2 separate regions of the Homo sapiens genome follow, and region 2 is linked to region 1. Evidence: promoter capture Hi-C in human tissues and cell types (Jung and others, 2019). All regions are on one chromosome and are shown on one strand. The core of a region is centred on a gene start or on the middle of the fragment in contact, and the rest is flanking DNA. Distances in the headings are between cores, read along the strand shown.

The links. Contacts are between HindIII fragments. The study calls those that stand out against the background at their distance.
Region 2: a contact is called between a fragment that was not itself captured here and the fragment with the promoter of PDE2A in region 1, in 8 of the 25 tissues and cell types used here (adrenal gland, dorsolateral prefrontal cortex, heart right ventricle and 5 more).

Annotation. Positions count from the first base shown.
Region 1 is chr11:72,672,011-72,676,134 of GRCh38, forward strand. It overlaps PDE2A (phosphodiesterase 2A), which reads right to left and starts at 2,412. Exons shown (of 31, transcript NM_002599.5): 1 at 2,127-2,412. The coding sequence starts at 2,197. RefSeq lists enhancers at 981-1,607, 1,608-2,233, 2,234-2,860, 2,861-3,485, 3,636-4,124. The HindIII fragment of the contact is 13,863 bases long and covers 1-4,124 here.
Region 2 is chr11:72,618,441-72,622,564 of GRCh38, forward strand. All of the region lies in intron 2 of PDE2A (phosphodiesterase 2A), which reads right to left. LOC105369377 (a long non-coding RNA gene) reads left to right here. Exons shown (of 4, transcript XR_001748292.2): 4 at 504-749. It also overlaps the pseudogene RNU7-105P. Among named protein-coding and RNA genes, the nearest start is that of MIR139, 5.4 kb to the left of the region's middle. RefSeq lists an enhancer at 1-460. The HindIII fragment of the contact is 3,656 bases long and covers 311-3,966 here.

The DNA of each region.
Region 1 (4,124 bases), core at 1,162-3,661:
CCTGTTCTCATCTATCCAGCCTTTCCCAAGTTCTCAAAAAGCTCCAGAACTCACTGACCCCTGTATTGGCTTGGCCTCCACTCTAGCCTCCTGGCCCCACCTCTCTCTTCCAGTTCAACCCAGACAATGCCACCGAGGCAGGTTTCTTTATTTTTCTTCTTCTTTTTTTTTTTCTTCTTTTGAGACAGAGTCTCACTTTGTCACCCCCAGGCTAAAGTGCAGTAAGGCAATCTCAGCTCACTGCAACCTCCACCTCCCAAGTTCAAGCGATTCTCATATTCTCATGCCTCAGCCTTCTAAGTAGCTGGGACTACAGGCGTGTGCCACCACACCCAGCTAATTTTATTGTATTTCTAATAGACACTGGGTTTCACCATGTTGGCCAGTCTCGTCTCAAACTCCTGGCCTCAAGTGATCCACCTGCTTCTGCCTCCCAAAGTGATGGGATTACAGGCATGAGCCACCATGCCTGGCCCAGGGCAGGTTTCTAGAACCCAAATCTGATCATGTCTCTCCCCTATATAAAACCTTTCTGGGCTCCCCAGGGCTCTCTGGATAAAGCCTAAGAGTCCTGGATCTTAAAGTTCTATTGAATGTGGGTCCTGCCTGCCCCCCACTCTATACAGTGTCTTCACTGCTCCAGGACATGCCCAGCCCAGGGCCTTTGCTTATGCAGTTCCCACCCCACCCCCACCTGTTAGCATGACGTTGATCTCTACTGCTTAATTATTCTCAAGCTATTTTATGTCTAAGAAGCTTAGGAAGCCCCAGAGGGCAGAGTCATTATTGCCTATTTCTTTTCTGCATCTTTCCCACAGGGTGTAGAATGAATTGTCCTGAGTTCAAAGAGGCGGTCATACATTCAGCCCCTCCCTGCCCTGCATCAGTGGGCCATGGTGTCCCAGCTGTATCCTCAATTGCCAGGGGAAGGAAACAGCCACCCACACACACTCAGATGAATACACACATATAGATACACACACACACCAGCCACAGAAGCACCGATATACACACTAGCACCATGATCACACACCCACACCAGAATACTTATACGCACACAGCCACATCCACCTCCACACACAGCAATGCTATTATTCACACACTAACAAATACACACACATAAATGCACATGGAACAGATAAAAAATGCACACTGATTCACTCTATTTTGCAGACACAACACACATAATATACAAACTCAACCTAATAGACACACCTACATACATATGCAGACCAACCTGCACTCACACTCAGACACATGCGAATAAACTCTCACTCACACAGGGATGATCACAAACTCTGACAGGCTGCTTTACATCCAACCACCAAGGACCCTAGAGCTCTACAGGCCCCTCTACACCCAACATGTCCCTTACATTCCACATGTATACACACACACACACACACACATACCCTGCCTACCACCTCGGCAGCCCTTAGTAGAGGGGTGTCGCCACGGCGCCCCCCACTCACTTGCACATGCACCCCCCTGCACGTGGACACACACGAGGCTGGCACCATATTCCATCTGGCTCCGTAGAACCCTATCCTGGGACAGACGCTTTGGGGTAAAGTTTCATAAAGTGGTGTCCCTGAACCCCAATTCCCAATTCCATGGAAGGTGGTTACCTCTAACCCTCTCTTGCTCCAGGGCCACTCTTATTCATATTTTCTCCATCTTTCCCCCTCCCCACCTCCTTCACACACACATAGCCTTGGTGGGCCAAGACACTCTCCCTCTCCGGGTCCTGAACCAGCCTATTGCAGCCCCGAGAGCTCCTCCCAACTACTTGGCAGACCTCCCCCTCCCCACATACACCCTCAGCCCTTGAAGAACCGGTTCAGGTTCATTATCAGCCCCTCCTCCAACCAGCAGCCCCTTCCATGGGACCCCAGCCTCATCACCTACTAGGTTGACGTTAGACACCCTCATTCTGCTCAGAGGTAACCTGCCCCCACCCCAGGCTGCAGTCTGGCAACGCGGGGAGGAGGGGTGCCCAGGAACAGGATCGATCCTTCCACGTGGCTCAGCTCCATGCCAACCCCAGCTCCTTGGAGGGACTCCCAGGACCCTGTCTGTGGCACCTCTCACAGCCGCTCACCACCCCAGCCCCTCACTATACTCACGGCTCAGCCGGTCGCGCTGCCGGGTACTGCTGGCTCCTGCAGAGGATGGAGTGGCCGCATGCCTGCCCCATCACTCCTCATCGTCCGCCTCCCCAGCCAGACTAAGGTGGCACCTCGCCCTGTCCCCGCTGCCTGGAGTTCAGGGCAGGGCACCCCCAGCAGGCACAGGGACCAAGAGCAGTGGGCTGCCCCCTACTCAGCCTGGACTCAACACCCCAATCCAGCTCTGCTGCCCCGCTGCTCCCGCCTCTCCCGCTGCCACTGCCTCTGCTGCTCGGCTGGCTCTGGGAGGAGGTTGGAGCAGGTCTGATAATGCAGAAGGGGGAGGGAGGAGGGAGGAGGAACAGAGAGAGGCCCAGACAGAGAGGGAGAGAGGGAGAGAGGGAGGGGTAGAGAGAGAGTCTGACTGGGAGAGAGGAAAAAAGACTCACAGACAGAGAGACTGAGAGATAAACAGAGACAGGAAGGGGGACAGTAACACATGAAGAGGGAGAGGAGAGAGGGATCAGAGCCTTAGCGAGATCAAGATGGAAGTACAAAGAGACCAGAGAGGCATAGAGAAACACACACACAGAGGAACAAAGGCAGAAAAGGAAAAAAAATCAGAGGCAGAAATAGAAAGAGAGTGGGGTAGGGGGAAAGGGGAGTGGCTGACAGAGGAGAGAGGGGAGAGGACGAGGGATTTACAATCCTCATGGGCTAGGATGGGGCTGGGGACTTGAGGGGCAGCAGACCCAGACCCTCTGCTGCCCCATCGCAGAAGCCTTCAGGATGAGGGGACACGCTTGTGCCCTCAAGTCTGAGAGATCAGGCCTCCATGCACAGCTAGCTGCCCTCTCCTCTGGGCTCCCTCACCCGGTGTGTATCATCTCCTAGCGTGCATCCCAGCCTGGAGCTGGGTCCACGGAAGACTTAGGGGGCTTTACTGATGGCCTTTGGACTCAGAGCCTTGTCACAGGGCCCACCTCTTGGTGGCTTGGTTTAGCTGGGACTTGGAGCTGATGCGTGAGCATGGACTTCTACCAGGATCTGTGGAGACCTAGGCCACAGCCTGCCCCACATGGCCTTCGCTGCTCACAGACTACAGGCATGGGGGAAGGCCTGTTGCACCCCCACCCTGCTTCCAAAGAGGACTCCCTAGGATAAAGCTATAACCTAGTGAAATAGAGGCATTTTAGGCCCTAGGACAGATAGAGAGTTGTCACAGCAGAGCTACTATTGTATGCAGGAGAAACAGCTCCACACCTTGAGGCAGGAAATGGGGATTTGGATCCTGGCTTCACCATTAACTTACTTATTCATTGGCCTACCAGTGGCTGAGCTCATGGCTCACACTATCCCTTGTCTCAGAGAAGCACTCGGGCTGGGGAGTGGGGAGGGGAGACTTGCAGGCTGTGACAGAAAGAAGCACAGGGTCTGTGAAGCCCAGAGGGACCCCTGACCTAGTTTGGGTGGTGGGGGGGCGGTTAGCAAGCATTTCTGGAAGAGAGGGTCCAAGCTGGGTCTTTTAAGGCAGAAGAGGGTATATTCCAGGGTAGAGGAGCTACAGCAAACCCTCCACAGCAACCCCATCTCTCTGAGCTGTGGGGAGAATACCTCCCCGCCACACAACAGGCTTCAAGCAGAGAAGTCCCTGAGGCTGAATAGAAACCTGACCCATGTTGAAGAACATGGGGGTGCACGGTGGAGGGGGCAAGGTCAGAAATGACTGAGCTTGTGTAGATGGCCTGCCCAGGCTGGGTGCTGCAGAAAGCAGTTGTCTTGTGGCCTGGGAAGTGTCAGGAAAGAAAATATGAGGAGTCTTTGCTTCCCACTGTGGCCCCAGAAGGCATCATAGAATTTTAGATCTCTGAACTCTGGGCAAACCATTTTCTCAAAGGGAACGAGGCCCAGGCTGGTTGTAAAGCAGCTGAGCCAGCCCAGAACTCATGTCTTGCTTCTCCACCTCACCTATCACTGGGGCCTCGCTGCTCCATTCCTGACAGCTAGGAAGGCATT
Region 2 (4,124 bases), core at 889-3,388, 54 kb before region 1:
CCTCACAGAGCAAGCAAGGGGCTGAGCCACAGGGCCCTGGGCAGGTGGGGCACCAAGGCACAGAGCCCTCCTCCAGTGAGGGAGAGAGTTGGCGGAGACATGGCAGGCTCTGGGGCCCCACGCACTCCCCTGAACCCAGACCTTCTTTGCCCCCCTTCATGTGCCCTCCCCAGCTTTGGTTGTCTTTTCTGGACCCCGGGCCTGAGTCTCTGTCTCTCTAATCAGTCTCCAGGAGAAAGCCCATCCAGTCTCATCTCCTTCCCACCTCCATTTTTCAGATGAGAGAGCCAAGCCCCAGAGAGGGGAGGCGATGGGCCTACGAGCCCATGGGACGCTGGCCATGGGCCTTGGTCACTCTGCCTCATTACACAGGGTCCCGGTCAGTGGGGCCACAGGGGCTGAGGCAGGCTGTCATACAGCCCACCTCCCAACATAAACAGCCCACCTCTCCACCCAGCCCGCCAGGCAGGCAGGCTGACATCCAGAGTTATTTTCCTTTGAAGGGCCCAGGAAGCCAGAGAACAAACATCCGGAGTCTCTGGAATCTCTCCTACTTTCCTTCCTCACATCCCGAGGATCTGGGAGCCAGCATGAGCATGCACACAGCGTGCGCACACACACACACACACACGCACACACTGGGCTGGGTAAATATGTCAGCCTGGGATATCTTGTGGGACTGTTGTGAATCTGTGGGTGCCTTAGAACCCCAAAGCCTTGAAAAGATGATGATGCCCTCCCACCAGACCCTCGGACCCTCTATACAATTCAAACTAAATTTTATCTTGGAAATGAAAATTAAAATAGTTTTTGTGTGGTTTTTCTGATTGCAAAATTCTGGATACACTCATCAGAACTGACCTCTCCTCTCACTCTGTGCAGAACTCCCGCTTTGCTGGGGACCTAAGCATGTGTGCAGCCTGCCCATTAATGGTCCATAGTGGCGAGCCCCTACGGACCATCACATCATCATGGCAGACTATGTTCCCTGGGTCACTGGGAGAATTTCCTTGTGAAAGTATGTAGGTCTGTGTCTCTGTAGGAATCTGTAACCCACATGGGTCGTGAGAGTGTAAACATGTGTGAGTACCCTGTGTCTATGTGTGTGCACTGGCCATCTGCACGTGGGAGTGACCATGTGGGCCTGCATCTATGCATATGTGATTCAGGTCATTGATGTCCATGTGACAGTGGTATAGTCAGTATGTGGCTGTCTGGGGTGCTGTGAATGCGCTGGTGGTTAGTCTTGTCTCCAAATGAGTGAGTGAACGTGTGGCTGAGAGTGGTGGAATCTGAGAGGGTCTAATTCTCCTCCTCTGCGCACCCCTGTCACTTCTCCCATCGCCTCCCTCAGATGCGGGCTCATCTGCCTGCCCTGCCACACACCACATGTACTGGACAAGTCTTTGGACCTTCCTGGGCTCAGTTCCTCATCCGTAAAATGGTCTCTTCCCCCAGAGCTGCTGAGAAGATTAAGCTGAGCCATCAAACCTTGCCTAAGCTGACTCCCAGCAGGGGGCTGGGGCCACCTGTGTGCACATTAGAAAGGAGGGACCCCAATTCTCTGGGCAGATGCGGGCCTGAGGGGAAAGGCTTGGTGAGGGAGAGTGGGCTCAGTTTCAGCACCACCCCACCTCTGCTGGAGCTCCTGTGCAAGGTATAGCCTGCACGGTTAAGAGACTTTGGCCTTGCAGGTGACCAAGAAAGGGCAGCTTCCTTTCTTCCTGCCCCACCTTCAGGTGTGCAGCCTGGAACTAGAGGGTCTCTGATTATAGGACTGGGGTAGACACATTCCAGATGAGACTCAGAGGACACTTACCCCTCCTCACTTCCCTGGGGCCCTGTGCTCTCCACCTACCCCTCAGTGCTCCCTCCCCAAGGCCCAGGAGAAGGCCCCTCAGAAGCCACAAGGGGGACTGACCAGAGCTGGGATGCAGAGCTAGGCCAACTGGGGCCTCTGAGACTCCCCAGTTCCACTCCCATTTTTGGAAAGGGAGACTGAGGCCCAGAGAGTAGCAGGGACCCTCCCAGGAACACAAGCGAACCCAGGAAGTCCAGACTCCTGTTTCAAGGCCTCTGTAGTTGGGTTTGAGAAGACCCAAGCTTTGGACTCTGTTGGCTCCTGAAAGGAGCCCAAGGAAGTGGGTAAAGGTCCCAAAAGACAGGCACTTTGACACCTGTGCCTCAGCTGCGGGTATGGACTCCTATCCACCCCCACCCTCCCGACCGGGACCAGATCCCCTACTGGTGTGATTAACCAAATTATGGGGCTTTTTCTTGAGCAAATTGCATTGGCCTAATTGGATGAGGCTGCAGGAGCCTGGGCTGGAGGCTGACAGTGGTAAGGACGGCAGGGGAGAGGAGGGGGCAGGAGTGAGTGGGCAGGAGGGGGTATCGCTGACAACACCAAGCAGGGGACAGAAGTTGGGGGAGAGGGAGAGAGGAGGGCTGTGGGTGTAAGAGGACACCTCACTCAGCGCACCTTCACTGTGCTCCTACTGGTGCTCCTGTTATTTGGGGACCTGGGGTGCAGGTGTTGAGGTTGCTGCTCCCCAAGAGACCATAGAGTATTTACCAAGTGCCAGAGACTGCATGCATTGGAGCACTGCTTCATGCAATCCTCCTAAGAGCTCCCATTTTATACTTGAGGAAATTGAGGCTCAAGAGATAAAATGACCTGCTGAATGTCAGAGCCTAGACAGGGCTGTCTGACACCACAGGCCCTGCTCTTAATCAGCACCTACAACATCCTGCTGAAGTGCCCACATCCTGCCTCCAGGAAGCCTTCCTGGGTATTCAGAGAAGGGAGGAGCTCGCATCTGGGCACAGACACCATTTCTGTTCCCATTCAGTGTTTCTCCTCATCTACCCTACAATGTCCATGCTCCCTCCCATACTCAGCAGCTGAAGCTGGGGCTGAGCCCACTTGAATCACATGCAGCCCGGTCACCTATAGCACAGCTTCAGTCCCTCTTACTCCCATGCAGAGTCCTGCACTGTGTCACACTCATCAACCAGGATGACACAAGAAGACATGACACCTGTGGCCTTCACACAGCAGGTCCCACCTGCTCGGTGACACACAGTCATTTCAGGGTCCACAGCGTCCCACTGTCCCATGTCACTGGGTGTCACAGGGCCACACACACAGTGATCTCTCACTGTCACCCTCACTTGGAGTCTCCCATATCTTCAGTGTTGCACCCATGTTCCCAAAGCCACCATGTCACCCTCACACAGCATCAGACACAGTTCCACACTGGCTCTGTGTCACTGTTACATTTCAGCATCATCCAGGACCTCCTAGCCTTAAAAAACAAAAATCCAAAGTCACATCTATTTTAGAATTTGTCTAGCAGGTTTTTCAGTCTTCACCGGAAAGCTCCCCCCACCAAAAAAAAAGTCTACCTTTGGTGAAATGACATCATGTCTGGGATTTGCTTTAACATATTTCAGCGAAGCAACCTATGAAATGGGAGAAAAATATTTGCAAAGCTTTTATCTGATAAAGAGGTAATATCTGGAATATATAAAGAACCCCTGCAATTCAATAACAACAAAAAAGCAAACAACCCAATGTTTTAAATGGGCAAAGGACTTGAATCAACATTTTCCCAAAGAAGATATACAAGTGGCCAACCAGCACATGAAAAGATGCTCAACTTCACTAATCATTAGGGAAATGCAAATCAAAACCACAATGAAATGTCACCCCACACCCATTAGGATGGCTACCATTAAAAAATAAAAGAAAAAAAAGAACAGAAAATAACACATGTTGGCAAGGATGTGGAGAAACTGAAACCCCTGTACACTGTCCGTGGGAATGTAAAAAGATACAGAAAACAGTATGGCAGTTCCTCAAAAACCAAAAAATAGAATGACTGTGTGATCCAGCAAGCGTACTTCTAGGTATACATCTGAAAGAATTGGAAGCAGGATCTTGAAGAGATATTTGTACACTTATGTTCATAGCAGCATTACTCACAATAGCTAAAATGTGAAAGCAACCCAAGTGTCTGGTGTTGGATGGATGTGGTCTGTCCATACACTGGAATATTATGTGGCCATAAAAAGGAAGGAAATCCTGTCACATGCTACAACATGGGTAAAACTTGAAGACG